Linked DNA regions of Homo sapiens: all the other regions are linked to region 6. Evidence: promoter capture Hi-C in 16 types of primary human blood cells and fetal thymus (Javierre and others, 2016). All regions are on one chromosome and are shown on one strand. Each heading gives the region's core, a stretch centred on a gene start or on the middle of the fragment in contact. The rest is flanking DNA. Distances are from core to core; before and after follow the strand shown. Region 1 has its middle 35 kb from the start of TMCC1-DT. Region 2 has its middle 18 kb from the start of TRH. Region 3 overlaps TMCC1 (transmembrane and coiled-coil domain family 1). Region 4 has its middle 19 kb from the start of TMCC1-DT. Region 5 holds the start of TRH (thyrotropin releasing hormone). Region 6 holds the start of RHO (rhodopsin). Region 7 has its middle 22 kb from the start of TRH.

What was found. Contacts are between HindIII fragments. The CHiCAGO score rates a contact against its expected background, and 5 or more counts as called.
Region 1: a fragment that was not itself captured here is called in contact with the fragment with the promoter of RHO in region 6 in 5 of 17 cell types (neutrophils, naive B cells, erythroblasts and 2 more); the score reaches 10.5 in neutrophils.
Region 2: a fragment that was not itself captured here is called in contact with the fragment with the promoter of RHO in region 6 in 2 of 17 cell types (erythroblasts and neutrophils); the score reaches 6.9 in erythroblasts.
Region 3: a fragment that was not itself captured here is called in contact with the fragment with the promoter of RHO in region 6 in 2 of 17 cell types (M2 macrophages and M0 macrophages); the score reaches 9.2 in M2 macrophages.
Region 4: a fragment that was not itself captured here is called in contact with the fragment with the promoter of RHO in region 6 in 1 of 17 cell types (neutrophils); the score reaches 6.9 in neutrophils.
Region 5: a contact is called between a fragment that was not itself captured here and the fragment with the promoter of RHO in region 6, in 2 of 17 cell types (naive CD4 T cells and erythroblasts). The highest score is 5.5, in naive CD4 T cells.
Region 7: a fragment that was not itself captured here is called in contact with the fragment with the promoter of RHO in region 6 in 5 of 17 cell types (neutrophils, naive B cells, erythroblasts and 2 more); the score reaches 6.5 in neutrophils.

The regions. Positions count from the first base shown.
Region 1 is chr3:129,927,509-129,930,453 of GRCh38, reverse strand. No RefSeq gene overlaps it. Among named protein-coding and RNA genes, the nearest start is that of TMCC1-DT, 35 kb to the right of the region's middle. The HindIII fragment of the contact is 1,652 bases long and covers 862-2,513 here.
Region 2 is chr3:129,955,826-129,958,525 of GRCh38, reverse strand. No RefSeq gene overlaps it. Among named protein-coding and RNA genes, the nearest start is that of TRH, 18 kb to the left of the region's middle. The HindIII fragment of the contact is 5,965 bases long and covers 1-2,700 here.
Region 3 is chr3:129,889,058-129,891,942 of GRCh38, reverse strand. The region is part of intron 1 of TMCC1 (transmembrane and coiled-coil domain family 1); the gene reads left to right. Among named protein-coding and RNA genes, the nearest start is that of TMCC1, 3.2 kb to the left of the region's middle. The HindIII fragment of the contact is 1,850 bases long and covers 367-2,216 here.
Region 4 is chr3:129,911,052-129,913,751 of GRCh38, reverse strand. No RefSeq gene overlaps it. Among named protein-coding and RNA genes, the nearest start is that of TMCC1-DT, 19 kb to the right of the region's middle. The HindIII fragment of the contact is 8,267 bases long and covers 1-2,700 here.
Region 5 is chr3:129,974,272-129,977,143 of GRCh38, reverse strand. TRH (thyrotropin releasing hormone) reads right to left here and starts at 2,424. Exons shown (of 3, transcript NM_007117.5): 1 at 2,321-2,424; 2 at 1,117-1,335; 3 at 1-445. The coding sequence starts at 1,327. It also overlaps the pseudogene LOC124906284. The HindIII fragment of the contact is 1,015 bases long and covers 884-1,898 here.
Region 6 is chr3:129,527,340-129,530,039 of GRCh38, reverse strand. It overlaps RHO (rhodopsin), which reads right to left and starts at 1,401. Exons shown (of 5, transcript NM_000539.3): 1 at 946-1,401. The coding sequence starts at 1,306. RefSeq lists enhancers at 1-724, 725-1,450. The HindIII fragment of the contact is 8,320 bases long and covers 1-2,700 here.
Region 7 is chr3:129,995,575-129,998,542 of GRCh38, reverse strand. It overlaps the pseudogene LOC124906284 and the pseudogene RPS17P9. Among named protein-coding and RNA genes, the nearest start is that of TRH, 22 kb to the right of the region's middle. The HindIII fragment of the contact is 3,275 bases long and covers 1-2,968 here.

The DNA of each region.
Region 1 (2,945 bases), core at 438-2,937, 400 kb before region 6:
ACAGTGTCTCACCAATCAGAGAATACCAATAAAGAGATGTAAATTACTTTTGTAAAGAACCAAATAGAGGCCAGGCATGGTGGCTCATGCCTCTAATCCCAGCACTTTGGGAAGCCAAGGCGGGCAGATCACGAGGTCAGGAGATCGAGACCATCCTGGCCAACATGGTGAAACCCCTTCTCTACTAAAAATACAAAAAAAAAATTTAGCTGGGTGTCGTGGCGTGTACCTGTAATCCCAGCTGCTTGGGAGGCTGAGGCAGGAGAATCGCTTGAACCCAGGAGGTGGAGATTGCAGTGACCCGAGATCATGCCACTGCACTCCAGCCTGGGCAACAAGAGCAAGACTGTCAAACAAAACAAAACAAAACAAAACGAAAAAAAACAAATAGAAACTTTAAAATTGAAAAATATATAACAAGTTAACAATTCACTGGAGGGTTCAGCAGCAGATTTAAGCTGGCAGAAGAAAGAATCAGCTAATGTGAAGACTGGTCATTTGCAGTGATCTAGCCTGAGCAACAGAAAGAAAAAAAAATGAACAGAGCCTCAGATAACTGTGGGATACCGTAAAGTACACTAAAATACATATAATAGAGGCCTCAGGAGGAAATGAGAGGATAGTGAGAAAAAGGCAGAAGGAATATTTGAGACATGATGGCCAAAGACTTCCTAAATTTGATTTCTTTTCAAAACAGTAATCTACAAAATCAAGAAGCTCAACAGGTCCTCAAGTAGGATACATTCAAAAGATCCACTCCTAGACACATCATAATGAAACTATTGAAAGCCAAAGGCAATGAATGTAGGAAGTAGCAAGACAGAAAAAGACTCATCATATACAAGGGATCCTCAATAAGCTTAACAGCTGATTTCTCATCAGAAACCGTGGAGACAAGAAGGCAAAGGGATGGCATGTTCAAGGTGCTGAAAGACTCACCAAGGCTTGGTGCAGTGCCTCACACCTATAATCCCAGCACCTTAGGAGGCTGAGACAAGAGGATCACCTGAAGCCAGGGATTCAAGACAAGCCTGGGCAACAAAGCAAGATGATGTCTCTACAAAAAAAGTGAAATATTAGCCAGGCATGGTGGCACACACCTGTAGTCTTAGCTGTTTAGGAGGCTGAGGCAGGAGGATCACTTGAAACTGAAAGAAAGACTCAATCAAAAATTCTGTCTCTAGGAAAACTATCTCTCTCTTTTTCTTTCTTTCTTTTTGTGACAGGATTTCACTCTGTTGCCCAGGCTGGAGTGCAGTGGTGTGATCACAGCTCACTGCAACCTCAAACTTCTGAGCTCAGATGATCCTCCCACCTCAGCCTCCTAGGTAGCTGGGACTACAGGCATGTGCCACCATGCCTCACTAATTTTCATATATAATTTTTTTTTTAGAGATGAGGGTTTCACCATGTTGCCCAGGCTGGTCTCTAACTCCTGGGCTCAAGCGATCTGCCCACCTCAGCCTCCCAAAGTGCTGGGATTACAGGCATGAGCCACCACACCCGGCAGGCAGATGGATTTTAATCCAGTTATATACTGTTTACAAGAGATACACTTCAGATTCAAATATTCAAATAGATTGAAAGTAAAAGAATGAAAAAAATATACTATGCAAACAGTAATTAAAATACAGCTAGAGTGGCTATATACGATATCAGACAAAATAGGCTAAGACAAAAATTGTTGCTACAGACAAGGACATTTTATGATGATTAAAGTTTCAGTCCAGCAAGAAGACACAATAATTATTAACATATTATGCACCTAACAACAGAACTCAAAATGCATGAAGCAAAGTCTTGGTGGGGGTGGCGGATGGGCACAAGTTTCTTTATTTTTACTCAACCCCCTAGCTAGGATTGTCAGATAAATACAAGACACCCAATTACATTTAAATTTTTAATAAACAACAAATAATATTTTCAGTGTAAGTATGTCTCACATAGTATTTGTAACCTAATTATACTAGAAATTTATTCGTTGTTTATCTGAAATTTGAATTTAAAAGAGCATCCTGTGTTTTAATTTGCAATACCTGGCAACGCTATACCTATCACATTTCTATTATTTGCCATCCCCTGAAGACATTTGAGTTTGCAACCACCACTGAGGGCACATTTTTAAGCAAAGGACTAGGTCTTCCTTCCTTATGTAATTCAAAGCTGGTCAAATGAGAATTTGGACTCTTGGTCACCAGGGGAAGCGGTTCTTAAATGTACTGATTCTTGTTTTAATGACAAAGGTCTCCCTTCCTCCCTCCTGACTTCTTCCTTCCCTTCCTCCCTCTTTTCCTTTCTTCTCTCTTTTTTTTTCTTCTTCTTCCTCCATTCTTCCTTCTCTCCCTTCCTTCCTTCCACAAGCATTCTTTGAATACCTACTATGTGTGGAGTCCTGCCGTAGTTACCAGAGTGGCACAATGAGGCATAAAGCACATTTCTTTTCTCTCTGGCACTCAAACCTGCACCCCCAGAGACATCAATCTAGAACTCTGCACCAGCATCACCCGGAAGCTTGTTACAACTACAGATCCCAGTCTCACCTTAACCTCATAGCAAATAGAAGACTAGAGGTTTGGCCTAGGAATCTGAATTTTCCACAAATGCCAAATCAGATCTGTATAGTCCACCAGGCTCTGGAGGTGCATCAGAAGACTCTAATCTAGGTGAGCTTCCCACCCATCCTGCGAGTCTCCTCTGTCGTGTCCTGGCGGGCCATCTCCTAGCTCCTGCTCGCACATCTCCAGGGCCATCTCTCCCTCGAGGGACCTAACCATGAGAAAGTGTTCCCCCACGGGAGCTGGAATCCAAGGCTGGGTCACCAGAGCTACCCAGAGTCTTCCTTTTACCCAGAGGTATCCTTTTTCCATACCAGACACCAGTGTCCCTTCAGTTCTTTCTGAAGTTTTCCTCAGGGCAAGCTGTCCAGGTGTCTCACTCTTGAGCTG
Region 2 (2,700 bases), core at 41-2,540, 430 kb before region 6:
CTTTTTCTGTCCTCCTCTACAAAGTCGTGACTTTTCCTTCCTCCACACCTGAGGCTCAGAGAGGTGAGGTGATTTTCTCAGGGTCACACGTCTCAAAAGCAATAGAGCTGGGATTCAAACTCAGGTCTATCTGACTCCACAGTCCAGTCTCCTCTCCCTCTTTCTTTCTTTCTTCTTTCTTTCTTTCATTCTTTCTTTCTCTTTTTATTTCTTTCTTCTCTCTCTTTCTTTTCAGATAGGGTCTCACTCTGTCACCCAGGCTAGAGTGCAGTGGTACAATTATAGCTCACTATAACCTCAAACTCCTGGGCTCAAGTGATCTTCTTGCTTCAGCCTCCCGAGTAGCTGGGACTACAGGTACACATCACCACACTTGGCTAATTTTTTTATTTTTTGCAGAGACAGGTCTTGCTGTGTTGCCCAGGCTGGTCTCAAACTCCTGTCCTCAAGTGATCCTCCTGCCTCAGCCTCCCAAAGTGCTGGGATTACCGGTGTAAGCCACCACGCCAGTCCAAAGCAGTCTCTTTCTATTACATTTTCTAAGATGCTAGAATTTAGGAGTTACATTTCATGCACATTTAAGTTGTATCCATATTTTATTATTATAAGCAATGCTGTAATGAACATCTTCACAGTTTAGTTTATGTTATTAGCATGAATTCCTAGGAGTGGAATTAAGGGTCAAGGTGGAATTAAGGGTCTGAGCATTCATTCAGTCAACAGATATTTCTCATCACTGCCACTGCTGCCAGTCTGGTCCATCCTCACTCACCTGGATGTCTATGGGGGCCTCTTAAGTAGACATACTTCTTCCTCACCTCCTCCTGTGGTATATTGAAAATTAGTCCCAATTCTTCACCTCTTCCTGCAGCCACACCTCTGCCAATGGGATGGATAGATTTCCGTCTCCCTTAACCTTGGCCTTGGCTATTGAATGGCACTGGTCAACAGGATGGAGCATAAGTGGGCCCCCACCTGGGATTTAAGAGCATTTTCACTCGCCCTCTTGTGCTTCTGCCATGGCCACTGGAACATGCCTTGGCTCACCCGCTGCTGCTGGGAGGAGAATCAGATACAGTTGGAGCAGAGCCACTCCAACTTGTCTGCAGGCCTATGAGATGAGATGATCATTGTTTGAAACCACTGGGTTTTGGGGTGGCTTGTTATGTGGCATTATTGTGAAATAGCTGACAGATATGCCCCCCACCTCCAATCTATTCTCCACACACCACAATTATCTCTTTAATATTTTTTAAATAATTTGTGCTTTATGTGCTGTAGAACTTTGCCACTCCATGCCCAAGGACCCTAGGAGCAAGCTGATGAGATACAGGAAGCAGAGGTGGCTGATCAGGCCACAGTACACTCAGATCTCTTCCACATTCATGAGGGTTGACTGAGGCCAAGGTTGCTCACAGAGGAGGTGGAAGAAGCCTGCAACCCTCCCTGGAAGGAGAAAGGGAAGGCCAGTCCCCAACATTTACCAGGGCCTGTTTCATCCTCTCAGGGCCTGTTTCAACCATGGTTCTAACTATCCCCATTCCACCCACAAGAAAACAGGCTCAAAAAAGCAAAGTGGTTTTCCCAGAGTTGCATGATGAGGACATAGCAGTAGTGGGATTGGAACCCTGGCCAGCCTGTTGCCAAGGTATGTCCTGCCCTCCATGCCTTGGCTGGCCTGATCCTAGGGAGTCAGATCAGACCTCTCCCTATGATCACCCCTTCTGCCTCTGGTTATGGCTACTTTCTGGCTGTTTGACCTGAGGCAAGTGATGTCACCTCTCTGGGCCACTAGATTGGAAACTCTGGGAGCAGGGAATTTCTTTTGGTGACTGCTCTATCCCTTCATCTAGAACAGAGCCTACCACTTAATAGATGCTGAAGTAAAGAATGAATGAAAGAATAAATTAATAGTTCTATTTGCCTATCTCTTCATCAAAACCCCAGGATTTCTTCTGTTGAGCACCAGACAAAAGGGTGCTTGAATTTGGAGACTATTTTGATAGCCTCCGAGTGCAGAGAGCCCTGGGAATAAGGCCAGCCTGACTCTAGCCCAACTATTCTCCAGGAGAAGTGACTTATTTGCTCCTCAGTTTCTTCTCTATCAAGTTGACCTCATTGTAGTTCCTACCACAGAGATTGGGTGAGGTTGATTGAGATGTAAGCCACCTGCCACACAATTAGTACCTAATAGACAGGTGGTTGCCATCTGGACTAATGGTAGATGTTTAGGCTAAGTGACCAGCTGAGGATATGACTGGGCAGAACCGTCAAGATGCCCTAGAGGGGAATGTTGAGGTCTCCAGGCAGGAGACCTTAACTATCTCCTGAGAACAGTATGAGCAGTAAGGTCTCTGGCTCTGGGCAGATGGGGGCATGGACAGGAAGGGGGTGAGAGAAGCAGACTCCTGGCTGTTTCATTCCTTCTCTGAATTAGGTCCCCACCAAGCTGTCCTTGGATAGGAGGGACGCGGAGGTGGCAGGCACTTGTAATGAGCAGAGAGCTCGCCCAGGCAAGGCCGGCCATTGATCGCCTGGCTCCTGACTTGTTTCAGCAGCAAGGGAGGAGGGAGAGGGAGTATGTGTGTCCCCAGGAGCAGCATGCAAGTGTCCAGGCATCAGCGTGACCCTGAAGTAGAGATGGCGGGGGGTGGCAAGGGGGATGGCCAGAGGCCCCCAACCCATCTGTGCTCAGCACAC
Region 3 (2,885 bases), core at 42-2,541, 360 kb before region 6:
CCTAGACTAGTTGGTGACCAACCACCATTACTTTAAACTGGGCCTTCTTGATAGTAGAATATTTCCCCTTTTCTGCAAGACTGCTTATGCCTCTCATAAATGTGCAGAACATATAATGGCTCAGGGCTTAGGTTTAAGCTCCTCAGAGTGGCATTTATGGATCATTCATTAATTCATCAAATGTTTATTGAGCCCTTACTTTGTTCCAGGATGTTTTCTAAGTACTGGGCTACATTGTTGGGACAAAACAGACAAGGCCTCTTCCCTAATTAAGCTTTATTCTGTATGTATGGGAATGAGGAATATACAACAAACAAGCAAATAGGATCATTTCAGATAATGATATAAATCAGTGGTTAGTAAGCTTTTTTTGGTAAAGGACCAGGAAGTACAGTACATACCAGGGTTTTTGGGCCATATGATCTCTTTTGCAACTACTCAATTCTGTTTTAGTACAAAAGCAGCCACAGACAGTACGTGAACAAATATGTTTATATTCCAGTTAAACTTGGGACACTGAAATTTGAATTTCATAAAATTTTCACATGTCACAGAATATTAATGAGTTTTTAAAAATATTTTCCCCTAGCCATTTAAAAATGTAAAACCATTCTTAGCCATATAAAACGGGGCAAGGTGGATTTGGCCTATAGATTATAGTCTGGCCTTTTATAGAAAATGTTTGCTGACCCCTAATATGAATTATGAAGAAAATAAAACAAGCTGATGTGACAAGTGAATGACTGAAAGGTGGGTGGAGGGTTACTTAGTGAGAGGAGGCCTCATTAAGGAGAAGGTATTTGAGTTGTGACCTGAAAAATGGTAGCGCTTTCCTGGTAAATGAAACAGTGAGTGCAAAGGTCTGCAGGTGCAGATGAGCTGCTCTTGTTTTCCAGTGTTGAACTTCCCCACATAACATGTCATTCTTACATTTTATGTAAATACATTTTATGTCTTTGTTAGAATGTTGTTCTTCATGTAATAGGATGGTACCTTTCCGTTTCCTCTTCCTGATCCTGCCTTACAGTACCCATGGAGTAAGACTGCAGTGGAGTTGCACCTCATCCCAGGGTTAGGTCCTCAAGTTAGTGCATGAGGCAAAAATCATGTAAGATGAAAACTCTTCTGGAAAATTCCATAAATTGCTCAAAAAGTATGGTCTGCATGTTTTTGTATGTATAGTTGTATAAAATTCTTACGAATATGAAAGGCTGAGAGCCACAGAGCTTGACTGAGGGAAAGAGCAAGAGGAAATAAATTGTTATATAGGTATCTGGGCCTTCAGACTGTTTGGCTTTTTAAAACTGCTCTGGAGTCCCTATCAGAGAGTGGGGGATGGTATAGAATTTTGACATGTTCCTGTTTCCATGCAGGGTTTAATTCTATTTTTATGTTAAGCCTCTATTACATTAATACATGCTCATAGATGTGTTGCGAATATTAAACAAGATAATGTATTTGAAAGAGCCCGGCACTTAAGATAGTCAGTAAACATTTGCAGAATTAGAATCTGATTTTTACTTCTTTGGGCTCACATACATACTGTCCTTTGAAAAGTTGTAGAGAACTTAGCCACCTGCTTCCTGTCTATCCATATTGGCATTTCCTGTTGTGGCTCCACTGAACAGCTGTCACTCTCTTTGTCCTTGAGCATTGGTCACATTTTGCCAGAGGTTGGCTTGTAAGTTAAATGGGTATAGGTGTAACTCTGTTAGTTCTGCCACATGACCCTTAAAGTGTTTGAGCACTGCTATTATGTCTCCTATTTAAGTCTTCACTTTTCAGAGCTGAATGTTTTTATTTTTCTTTTTTTTAAAGATATTATGGAGAGAGATGGGGTCTCATATGTTGCCTAGGCAAACTCCTGGCCTCAAGTGATCCCCCTTGCCTTGGCCTCCAAAAGTGCTGGGTTTATAAGCATGAGCCACCATGCCCCAGCCATTTTAATTTCTGTTAGCTTTTTCTTATTTCTTCACCCTTCTGGTTGTTGTGAGCTTAGTTTATTCTTTTTTTTTTTTTTTAACTTTGCTACTCTGAAGTATATTTTAAGGTACAAATTCAAGTTTTATCTCCTTGACCAAATCTTTCCTGATAATTCTAGACCTTCTTTATATTCTTAATATAGTTTTATCTTTACTCTTCAATTTAATTTTTTCTTATTTTTGTATTTTATACTAGTTTCATGAGCATTTGTCTTCACTCTGCGACAACAAGCTTCTTGAAGGCAAAGACCATATTTTAAGTATCTTTTGTGTCCTAGATGCACTGAGTAAAATTCCAGGGATGCCGTTGATCATAAATTTGTTATAATTTTTAAAAATAGACTTTAAAATTTAGATTTACAGAAACATTGCAAAGATACTGCAGAGTTCCTGCCTATCCTACACTGTTTCCCATATTATTAACGTCTTACATCCCTGTGATCATTTGTCTGTATTAATAAACCAGTATTGATACATTATCACAGAGACCATACTTTATCAGGTTTCCACAGGTTTTTTCCTTAATGTTCTTTCACTATCCCAGGATCCCATCCACAATACCACATTACATTTAGTAATTATGTCTCCTTAGCTCCTCTTGGTTGTGACAATTTCTCAGACTTTCCCTGTATTTAGTGACCTTGGCAGTTTTGAACATTACTGGTCAGGTTTTGTTTGTTTGTTTTTTTGAGACAGGATCTCCCTCTGTCACCAAGACTGGAGTGCAGTGGAACGATCTCATCTCACTGCAGCCTCAACACTCTGGGGTCAAGTGATCCTCTGACCTCAATGTCCGGAGTAGCTGGGCCCAGAGATGTGTGCCATCATGCTCTGCTAATTTTTGTACTTTTTGTAGAGATGGGGTTTCACCATGGTGCCCAGGCTGGTCTCGAACTCCTAGAA
Region 4 (2,700 bases), core at 23-2,522, 380 kb before region 6:
CTAATCAGGTAGCTCAACAGCTCTCATTTTACAGAGGAGGACACTGAGGCCCAGCCTGTTAGTTGTGGCATCAGGACTGGTTTGTGGGGGCCCAGCCTGGTGAGCTTCCACCACTCTCTTGGACTGTCCTGTTGACAGGGCTGAAGGTCCTGGCTTGAGACAGGACCTGATGTTTCTCTGGTGCCCCTCCCACCACTTGCTGAGTTAGTTGGATCTCAAAGGTAGGATCCTGCTGACCTTGTCTCTGGATTACTGGACAACAGGGACTGAGAAAGTTATGTTTAATTAGAAGAGACACAGGCCAGCCTTCATGGACTTAGTTGTATCCCTCTCTGTCCCACCACTGTGACATCTGTGATATTGTCTTCCCTGCCCAGCACCCCCTTTTCTTCTGGGAACAACACCTTCTTTTGGGGACCTGTTCCTTTCTGCTTTCTAATCACTATGTAATTTCAGTGGGTGTTATTGGTCATACGCTCATGGCCACAGTTGATCGGTCTAGGGATGGGCATTGTACTCAAAATGGGCCAATCAGAGCCTTTCCCTCAGATTTGCTGGACTGGACTGACGCAGGATACAGGTTTTCTAGCATGAGGCTCAGGAACTAATGGCAGCCACATCCCCCATTATGGGGAGAAAGCTGATCTGATAAAACTAGGAAAAGCAGAGAGGGGAGAAAGTGTCCAAGGGCCCACTTGTCTCTGAGGCCCTCCCTGCACTTCCCAAGGCTATGTTCCATAAGCACACCAGCATTCTCCCAATAAATGGCTCTGATTTTGCATATGCCTATTTGCTTTGGATTTCTATCACTTGAAGACAAACTAGATCAATAAGCCTGAGATCCCAATCACTAGCAATCCTGACCGTGAGGCCCCGGCAGGGAGGATGTCGGAGTTCTGTTCCCCTGGAGCTGACTGGCTCACTGAGTGGTCTCGAACTCCTGAACTCATGTGATCCACCCACCTCGGGCTCCCAAAGTGCTGGGAGTACAAGCGTGAGCCACCGTGCCCAGCCACAAATCTTAAGAATACATTTCTGGCTGGGTGCGGTGGCTCACGCTTGTACTCCCAGCACTTTGGGAGGCTGAGGTGGGCAGATTACCTGAGGTCACGAGTTCGAGACCAGCCTGGCCAACATGGCGAAACCCTGTATCTACTGAAAATACAAAAATTAGAATTAGCCAGGTATGGTGGCATATGCCTGTAATCCCAGCTCCTTGGGAGGCTAAGGCACGAGAATTGCTTGAATCTTGGAGGCGGAGGTTGCAGTGAGCTGAGATGGTGCCATTGTACTCCAGCCTGTGCAACAGAGCGAGACTCCATCTCAAAAAAAAAAAAAAAAATTTCTGTAGACATACTTACCTGTGTAACCACCACCCAGATCAAGACACAAAACATTTCCAGCACCCAAGAAGACTACTGTGTACTTCCCAGTCAGTGTGCTTGCCCCCGCCCACTACTGTTCTAGCCTACCTCTGTCATCATAGGCTAGTTTTGCCTATCCTTGAACTTCATGTAATGGAAATGCACAGTGTGTGCTGTTTTGTGTCCAGCTTCTTCTACTCAGCACAATATTGGGGATGCCTAATCTGTAATACTGGCCCCTATACTCTTCATCTTCATGCTGCTCCTGGAATGATAGCTAGCATTTGTTAGGTATCTGGCACTGTTCAAGATCTTTACATTATATATTCATTTGCTCCTCATAGTACACCTATGAGGTAAGCACAAACGAAGACACTGGGGCACAAAGAGGTGAGGGAATTTGCCCAAGACACAGATCTGAAGTGGCATAATTAGGATGGGAAGGCAGGCCATCCACCTCCAGTCCATGCTCACACCTAACAGCTAGGGGATCTCATATGCACTTTAAGGACTGAGAGAGACTCTCCAGGTAGAGCTGAGTTTTTGGAGGGTCAAATGGGAAAACAGAAGTAAAAATGTACTAAAAAGAGAAAAGAGTTATACAAATATAAGTCAGGATTATACTTCATTTAATATGACTAGGACCACCATTCACTCATTTGTAAATCTTAATAAATATTAATTAAATAAATATTTAATTAATATTTATCAATATTTATTGATTTAATTAATATTTAATTTAATATTTATTAATTTAATTAATATTTATTGAGCTCCTAAAGATACATGGAGGTCAGTGGGTTCAGAATGACAGAGACAAAGTCCCTGCACTGGTGGAGCTTACAGTCCAGAGAGGAAGGCAGAAATGTAAGGGGAAGTTATGGGTATGTTGAGCTAAGAGGAAATTCAGAGTGTTTTGAGAGAATGTCATAAGAGCAGCTGACTTTGTGGGGTCAGGGAAGGCCACCCTGAGGAAATGACATTCAAGCTGAGACCTGAACCATTTAAGCCAACTCTGTTGGAGAGGAAGGAGTATCAGGAACAGGGAATAGCATAAGCAAAGGCCCTGAAGTAAGAAAAACTAGCACAATCATTAGAAATTTTAAGTCATATCACTTCTTGGCCTTTTGGCTAAGATGAAGTGTCGAAATTTTTTTTTTTTTTTTTTTTTGAGATGGAGTTTGTGGCCCAGGCTGGAGTGCAGTGGCATGATCTCTGCTCACTGCAACCTCCGCCTCCCAGGTTCAAGCGATTCTCGTGCCTCAGCATCCCAAGTAGCTGGGATTACAGGTGCAAACCACCACACCTGGCTAATTTTTCTATTTTTAGTAGAGGC
Region 5 (2,872 bases), core at 142-2,641, 450 kb before region 6:
CTCCTACTCAGGTCATCCAGGAGCCCCAGCAGAAGGCCCGCTTGACCATAGGCTCCCTGGGGCCCACAGGGGCCTCCCAGGGCCCTCTTGCCCGGATGCTGGCGTTTTTCAGGCATCAGGTCTTCCTCTCTCTCTTCCTCCTCCTCCTCTTCTTCCCAGCTCCTTTGAGCCTTGGGATCTGCCAGCCTTCTGCCTGGGTGCTGCCGCTTCGGGACAGCATATGCAAGCCAGGGGGAGCGCCGGCCAGGATGCTGCCGCTTGTGCTGGGTTACATCGACTGACCATGAAGCCTCATCTTCTCGTCGGCCAGGGTGCTGCCGTTTGTGGGGTCCCACAGCCCCCCCTTCTTCCTCTTCCTCTTCTTCAACTCCCTCTTCCTCCTCCTCCTCTCTTTTGCCTGGATGCTGACGTTTGGAGAGCCAGTCAGATTGAAAGATCTGGGACGCTGGGGAAGGAAAGAGGTCAGTGAGGGGCCCCTGACCCATGTAATAGGCAGGCGCCTGAGTGCCCACTCCTGCTTTTCTCCCAGGCAGGGTACATTTCCTGCAGCTCCCACTCAGAGGCATGGTCTTGCACCTGCCCCTCAGGCCTCACAGATACACACATTCACACAATAGTCAAAGGCATTGCCTCTGGGTTCCAATCCCAGCTCTGGCGCTCCCTAGTTGTCTGACCATAAGCGACTCAATTGATCTCTGGGAGCCTCAGTTTTCTTCTGTGTAAAATCGTAATAACAGTACCTAACTAAGAGGTTGTTAGGAAGATCAAACAGTGTGATAAGGTGTTTGAAGTGCTTGGAATAGTGTCTGGCACAGAAGTGCCTAGACAGTAGTAATTCAAACTGTCACACACAAAGAAACTCTCTCCCTAGCACACAGAAGCTTCCCCACCCAGGGCCTGCTCTCTGTGAAATATTCCCAGCATTGAGACAGGGGAGGAATCTGACCCCGAGGAATGGTCAACTCCAGATCCCGCCTAGGCGCAGCCAGGGAGGGTTTCTGAGCTTCCGAAAGGCAGAAGGCTAGCTGACCAAGCCTCCCCTCCCCTTTGCCGGCAGGTTTCCACGGCTCTCCCAATAGCCTAGCCCCACAGCCCCCAACAGCCCCATCCACTCACCGGAGTGCTCACCCTGGTCCCCTTGCAGCCGCTGGATGTTTTCCCGGAGGAAGAGGAGGCGCTCCACCTGGCGCAGGAAGTCATCCAGGCCCGGATGCTCCGCGGCCGTCACTGCCTCCTGCTGGGCCGCCTCTGGCTGAGCACGGCCGCCGGGGACACCGGTCAGGTTCAGGGTCAAAGCCAGAGCGAGCAGCAACCAAGGGCCGGGCATCGCGGCGTCTGGGTTAGGGGACAGAGGGAGCCTGAGCGCACCGAATCACAGCACATCCCGCTCCATCTCCCCCGACGCCCGCCAGAAACAAACCACGCACAGTTCAACCGCCCTCCCAGAAGCAGGACCACTGCCCCTCGTGCAGGGGCGGGAGCAGCGGCGGGTTCGCCCCGGCTCTGCGTCCACACCTGTCACCTCTAGGCGTCCTCGCCCCCACGGGTGCCTGTAGTGCCTGCGCCCAGTTCTGCTTGCGCAAGGCAGGAGGCCGTAGGAACCCCATCGCCAGCGCCACCGCCACCCTTCAATGTGACGCGGAACTGGGGAAGCCAACGCTGGGACTGCCTCGCCGGGAGTGCAACCATTGAGATTGCAGCGCCAGGCACAGCCGCGACGCTAACGGTTGCGTCCCCGCCAAGACTCCCCCAAAGGTCCCCATCGCCACGTTCTAACTCCAAGCTCCGTGGCCGACGTCCTCATTCCAACGCGAAGATCCCATTTCTATCGCTAAGATTCAGGTTCTAAAGCTCAAAGTCTATTTGCAAAGCTAAGATTCTATTTCTAATGCTAAGCTTTCATGACTAAGCCAGGAATCTGATTCTAACGCTAAAATCCTAACTTCAACGCTAAAATTCTATTTCTAGCGTTGAGATTGGGATTCGAACTCCCAGGTTCTCAGGCCGACGCCCTGAATACCCAGCTCTGTCCGGCGGCACCCAGGCAGGGGGTGCCGCGGAGCTCCCACCCCGCGCTGCGGACTCTGGCGACCTGAGTGCCCAGCAGCGAGAGCCTCCGATGTGCCCGCGCCGTGCCTCCCGTCGGGTCCCCGGCCTGCGCTCGGGGAGGACCCGGGGGTGCGAGCACAGCGCCCGCCTGTGCACCGGCCCTGTTCTCCAGGAAGCTCTCAGAGAACCGAAGGTGAGGGCGGGCCGAGAGGGCTCCCTTTCCAGTGCTCCCGGACACCGTCTGCGGAAGGAGAGGGGTTGGGGCGGTTACCTGCCAGGAGTGGGCTCCACAGGATGGGTCCGGGATCCGGGGACTCGGGATCCGCAGTCGGCAGGTCAGGAGTCTGCAGCGCTGAGGACCCCGGGCGCCTGCCGAGCCCTCTTCAGATGGGCCGCCGCTTATATCTGCGCCAGGCGGCGGCTCGAGTGAGGTCAGCGGGGAGGGGTCGCGGCCGCCGGGAAGGGGCGCTGACGGCAGCCGGCCCCGCGGGACCCCGCCCGCCTGCTCCTCCGGAAATCTGGGGCGGGGACGGTGGGGACCGGAGCCGGGGCGCGGAGGCACTGGCCGCAGGATGGGGCGCCGGCGCGGGGTCGTTTCTGCACCACCTCTGGAGATCTGTTGACGAGAACACGCGTGTAGGGGGCAAAGGGAGGGACAGAGAGATTGAGAGAAGCGCACGATTAAACACAGGCGCACGAGAGAGCTAGAGGGCGAGACAAAGACCGAGATCCACACGGAGACGACGGAGAAACACAGGGCAGACACACACGAAAGGGACACGGCCGCAGAACCAATGTAGAACGCAGACGGGCGAGAGTAGAG
Region 6 (2,700 bases), core at 152-2,651:
GGAGACAGGGCAAGGCTGGCAGAGAGACGCTTGTGGCTGGCGGTAAGCTCTCCCCGTCACCCAGCTTTGCAATGGCTGCTTCTAGCGTCTCCTCCTGCATCTCAGCAGAGATATTCCTGGATCACAGCCAGGAGACCTAGGCTCTTGTTGCTGCCTGGCCACATCCCTAAATGAGTCTCTTCCCCTCTCCCTGCCTCAGTTTTCCTCTCTGTTAAGTGGGATCTGTTATCCCTGCAGCACCCCATCTGTTTTCCTGTTAAATGCAAGACATTATTCTAAAGCAAAAAGGAACTGCTTCAGAGCGGCTGCTTGCGGTTCTCAACACCAGGAGACTTGGAACGCGGCAGGGAGGCTGGAGGGGCACCTGAGGACAGGGGCTGAGAGGGGAGGCAGAGGATGCCAGAGGGGACCGAGCCCATTGCCCAGCACAGGGAAGACCCAATGACTGGAGAATGGAAAATCCACTTCCCACCCTGAGCTTGGGCCCCCAGAGAGGAGGGGTCTGGCTTGCCCAGCTCTCCCTCAGTGCCCAGCCTGGGTCTGACTCAGCACAGCTGCTCCAAGGGAAACAGAGGCTTGGTGCTGCAAACATGGCCCGAGATAGATGCGGGCTTCCAACTCAACTCTGCACCCGTCCCTGTGTGACGCCCCAGCAGGGCGCTTGACTTCTTTGAGCCTCAGCTCAGTTTTCTTGCTGTGAAATTAGACAAGCGCATATTGCTCCAAATAAGATCAAGGCAGTGTTCAGTGCCAGCCCTGCACAAACAGCAGCCCGGCTATCACCATGAATGGTGTTTGTTGACTGAATATATGAGGGCTTTGGATAACATTGACAGGACAGGAGAAGGGAGAAGGCCTCTCAGCCACCACCGCCAAGCCCGGGACTCTCCCAGACCCCTCCATGCTCCCGGGCTCCTGCACACCCCACCCACACCCGGCTCATACCGCCCAGGGTGGCAAAGAAGCCCTCCAAATTGCATCCTGTGGGCCCGAAGACGAAGTATCCATGCAGAGAGGTGTAGAGGGTGCTGGTGAAGCCACCTAGGACCATGAAGAGGTCAGCCACGGCTAGGTTGAGCAGGATGTAGTTGAGAGGCGTGCGCAGCTTCTTGTGCTGGACGGTGACGTAGAGCGTGAGGAAGTTGATGGGGAAGCCCAGCACGATCAGCAGAAACATGTAGGCGGCCAGCATGGAGAACTGCCATGGCTCAGCCAGGTAGTACTGTGGGTACTCGAAGGGGCTGCGTACCACACCCGTCGCATTGGAGAAGGGCACGTAGAAGTTAGGGCCTTCTGTGCCATTCATGGCTGTGGCCCTTGTGGCTGACCCGTGGCTGCTCCCACCCAAGAATGCTGCGAAGGCCTGAGCTCAGCCACTCAGGGCTCCAGCTGGATGACTCTGGGTTCTGACCCCCCCAGACCCTTATAAAGTGACCTCCCCCTCCTAAGCTCCTGGCTGAATCAGCATCTGGGAGATTGGGGGTGTTCATAATCATATTAATCCCCGCTGCAGAAACTGAGGGCCTAATTGGCTTCTAAGAGGGGCCAAGGTGACACTAGGAGGAAGCCTGAGGTCAGGGAGGAGAGGTACTCAGGATCCAGGAAAAGGGAGGAGAAGGTCCCCTAACTTCTGCATGACTTGTCTGTCCCAAGGTCCCAGCTCAGTCTGGTGGCCTGGGTTTGAAATAGGGACCATGGGCCTCTGTGCTATGTCCTCTGGACAGCTAGAGACTTTCTGGTTTATTCTCCCAGTCTCTCATCTCGTCACACAGCCCCTTACCTGTTCGTTCCCCCACAAGTTACCTCTGGAGTCATCCAGTCCCCACACTCCTCTGACAGGAGGAGCTCCATGAGGGCAGGGGCTGCAACCTGCAGCTTCCGTTTCTGGTGCCAGACACATAGCCTAGGGCCCAGGAGCCCAATCCTTGTTGCATGGAATTGGAATTCACTCTCTTGTTCGTTCATTAAACATTTATTTGCAGGCCCCTGGGAATACAAAGATGGAAAGAAACAGCCCTGCCCAGAGGAGCTCAGGGGCTGAGGAGGACTCAAATGTGGGAAGAAGCAGATTCCGTCCAGGGTGGCTGTGAGGTTGTGGAGACAGGGCCTGACTGCCTGGGGGTTGCAGTCTGGGAGGCCATGTTTGGGCCTTTGAGAGAAGGAGCAGTTTGCCAGGTGGCTAGGTGGGGAAGATCTGGGCTGGGGGCAGTTGTAATGGGTCTTGAACGCTAGGCCGGGGAACCTGGCTTTATCCAGAGGAAAGTGAGCAGTGGCTTGGGCAGATCACTGGTGTAGAAAGGTGACTCAAATGCCCCCAAAGATGGAGTGGAGGGAGGGAGGATGGAGGGGGCTACCAGAGCAGGGGAGGGGCAGAACCCTTCAGGGGACTCCAGTCTGAAGGGGAGGCTGGCCCTGGAGGCAGCAGACAGGGCACTGTTGGGGGAGGCCTAATCAGCCACGAGGGCCTCAAATGCCATGTACCAGGTGGCCCCACGAGGGCCGATTCCAGAATAGCAGGATGTACCGTGAGAAAGAAAGTAGTCAGAGCCTTGGGGGCAGATGACTGGGGGAAAATGGAGGCCAACACTGGCAGGTCCCCCTCTCCCCGTCGTCCAAGCAACATGATGACACCTCCCAGGAATGAAGTGGGGTGTCTGGGGCGGCCTGTGCAAGTGCTGAGAGTGCCCGACGTGCGGCCGC
Region 7 (2,968 bases), core at 84-2,583, 470 kb before region 6:
GACATGGCCTATGTTGGCAGATCCTTGCAAAAGAGGAACTTCAGGTATTTTTTTTGAGTAAAAACTGCTTCAAGCCATTTTTGGAATCAAATAGAGTGGCTACCAGAAATAGGCTGATTTCATAGTTAGGCATAGTGGTGCGTGCCTGTAGTCCCAGCTACTTGGGAGGCTGAGGCAGGAGAATGGCTTGAACCTGAGATTGGCTTGAGCCAAGATCGTGCCAGCCACTCCAGCCTGGGCAACAGAGCAAGAGAAGGAAAAGAAAGAAAGAAAAGAAGGAAGGAGAAAGAAAAAGAGAGAAAGAGAGAGAGAAAAAGAGAGAAAGAAGGAAGGAAAGTCAGAAAGAAAGAGAAAGAAGGAAGGAAGGAAAGTCAGAAAGAAAGAAAAAGAAAGGAAAGAGAAGGAAAGAAAGAAAGGAAGAAAAAGAAAGAAAGAAAGAAAAAGAAAAGAAAGAAAGGGAGAAAGGAGGGAGGGAAGGAAGGAAAGAAGAAGGAAGGAAGGAAGTTGATTTCATTTCAGCCAGGCGTGGTGGCTCACACCTGTAATCCCAGCACTTTGGGAGGCTGAGGCAAGCTATATCACTTGAGGTCAGGAGTTTGTGACCAGCCTGGCCAACAATGGTGAAACCCTGTCTTTACTAAAAATACAAAAATTAAGGCCAGGTGCAGTGGCTCATGCCTGTAATCCCAGCACTTTGGGAGGCCGAGGTGGGTGGATCACCTGAGGTCAGGAGTTCAAGACCAGCCTGACCAACATGGAGAAACCTCGTCTCTACTAAAAATACAAAATTAGCTGGGCATGGTGGCGCATGCCTGTAATCCCAGCTGCTCAAGAGGCTGAGGCAGGAGAATCATTAGAACCCAAAAGGTGGAGGTTGCAGTGAGCCAAGATCACGCCATCACACTCCAGCCTGGGCAACAAGAGCAAAACTCCGTCTCAAAAAAAAAAAAATTAGCCGGGCGTGGTGGGTGCACCTGTAATCCCAGCTACTCGGGAGGCTGAGGCAGGAGAATCGCTTGAACCCAGGAGGTGGAGGCTACGGTGAGCTGAGATCTCACCACTGCACTCCAGCCTGGGTGACAGAGTGAGACTCCACCTCTAAAAAGAAAAAGAAAAAGAAAAAATAGATTGATTTCAAAAAGATTAATCACTGAAAATAGCTGTTGTTGGAAATGGTGTGGAGCAATGAGTTCTCTGAAACCTCACTCACTATGGGTGGGTGTATAAATTGGGAGCGGCTTTCTATGGAGCAGTTGGCAGTATTTGTGAAAATGTTAACTACCCATGCCCATTGTCCTAGCAATTTTGCTTGTAGGTGTTCTATCCCACAGAAACTCGCATGTCTATACAAAGACAGGAGCAAGACTGCTTATGATGGCGTTGTTTATAATCAGGAAGTGCTGAAAATAACCTAAATATCCATCCATAGGGGTGTGCATAAGTGACTTTTGATGCACCCATGCGTCAACCATTATAGTGATTAAAAAGAACAAGGGAAATATCTAACGACTGACATGAGGACAGCTCTAAGATGTGCGGTGGTATCAGAAAAGTCTTGAGACAATAGTGTGCAAATATATGTGCATGTGGCTGTGTACAAATGTAGAGAAAATGATCTGGAAAGTTACAGCCCTGGTCCCTGTTGCCTGGCATGTTCCAGAAACAGCAAGGAGGCTAAGGAGGATGGTGTGAATGAGGGGAGAGTAGGAGGAGCTGGGTCAAAGAAGTCGCAATAGGCAGAGGACATTGTCCCTGCTGGGTGTGCAGGACCCTCCCCCTTGGCCACCACAGTGCAGCTAGATCCACCAGCTCATGCCCAGAGTTTCTGGTTCTTCCCTGTATTAATGATACCTTTCTATCTTCTATGTTTCTGATGCTTTGACATCTGGGGTCTTGGTAACCCTGGAGGGATTGCTCCTCCCAGGGATGGCCAAGAGATAGTAAAGGACTGGCCTGTAAGTGTGCATTTAACATGCAAACTAATCAATGCACAGCCCCCACCCGCACCACCCCCTTTATCTCTGGGCTCTTTCACTCCAGGCCACTATTCTCCTGCCCTAATCACTCCAGGGCCAGGTACCAAGCATCTAGGGTCAGCCGCTATGCCCCAAAGCCTGCTGAAATTATTCAATCTAGCCAATCCTAAGCCTGTTTACCCTGCCTCACCTGGAAACTAAAGTAAAGGATCTTGCCCCATTTGCCCCTCACACCCTCTGCCTCCTGATTGACCCTCATGCCTCTCCTTGTGGCTCTTCCTGGCATGGCATGCCCCCTCCTCTTGGGACCTGTGAGTAACAAACTCTTTTCTGTGGCAGTCGTCTCCTGAGCTGTTGGTCTCACTGTACTTGAGTAATAATAAGACTTACATCCGTATTTGAAACACACCCCACAGGGTGTGGGATGGAAAGACCTCAGAGCCCCCAAAATGACCAAATGATGCCAGAAGTACAAAAGAATTTATCGTTCATTGGCCACAGAACCAAGGTTGACTAATGAGACCCAGGAGACAGGAGGGATCCAGGTAGATAAACCCCCTCTCCTTCCATCTTTCTCTGGACTATCTGAGACTGGATTTCTCCTTGCAGTCCTCCTGGAGGTGTTCTGTGTAAGGTGGGTGTACCTCCAGAGCAGCCACGAGGGTGATTGTGGAGTGATGGCCTCATGGTACCACCCTTCCCATGGCTTCCCTGCTCCCTTTCTCGGCCTGTGATCATCCTGGGCTCATATCTGGGCTTGCACCACCCAAAGGAAGCAGCCACACATTCATCCTTGCCCTGAGCCCCATTTCTAGAGAAAGCAGGCTAACCAACTTCAACTGTGAACTGTGGCAACATCTTCGAGCTGGGAGGTGGGGAGTTATACAAGGAAGCTCTAATTTTGGCTCTACATATCTGTATATTATATATGTTTTAAGGTGATAATGTATTTATTACCTGAGTAAATTTAAAATATTAAAAATGATGATAAG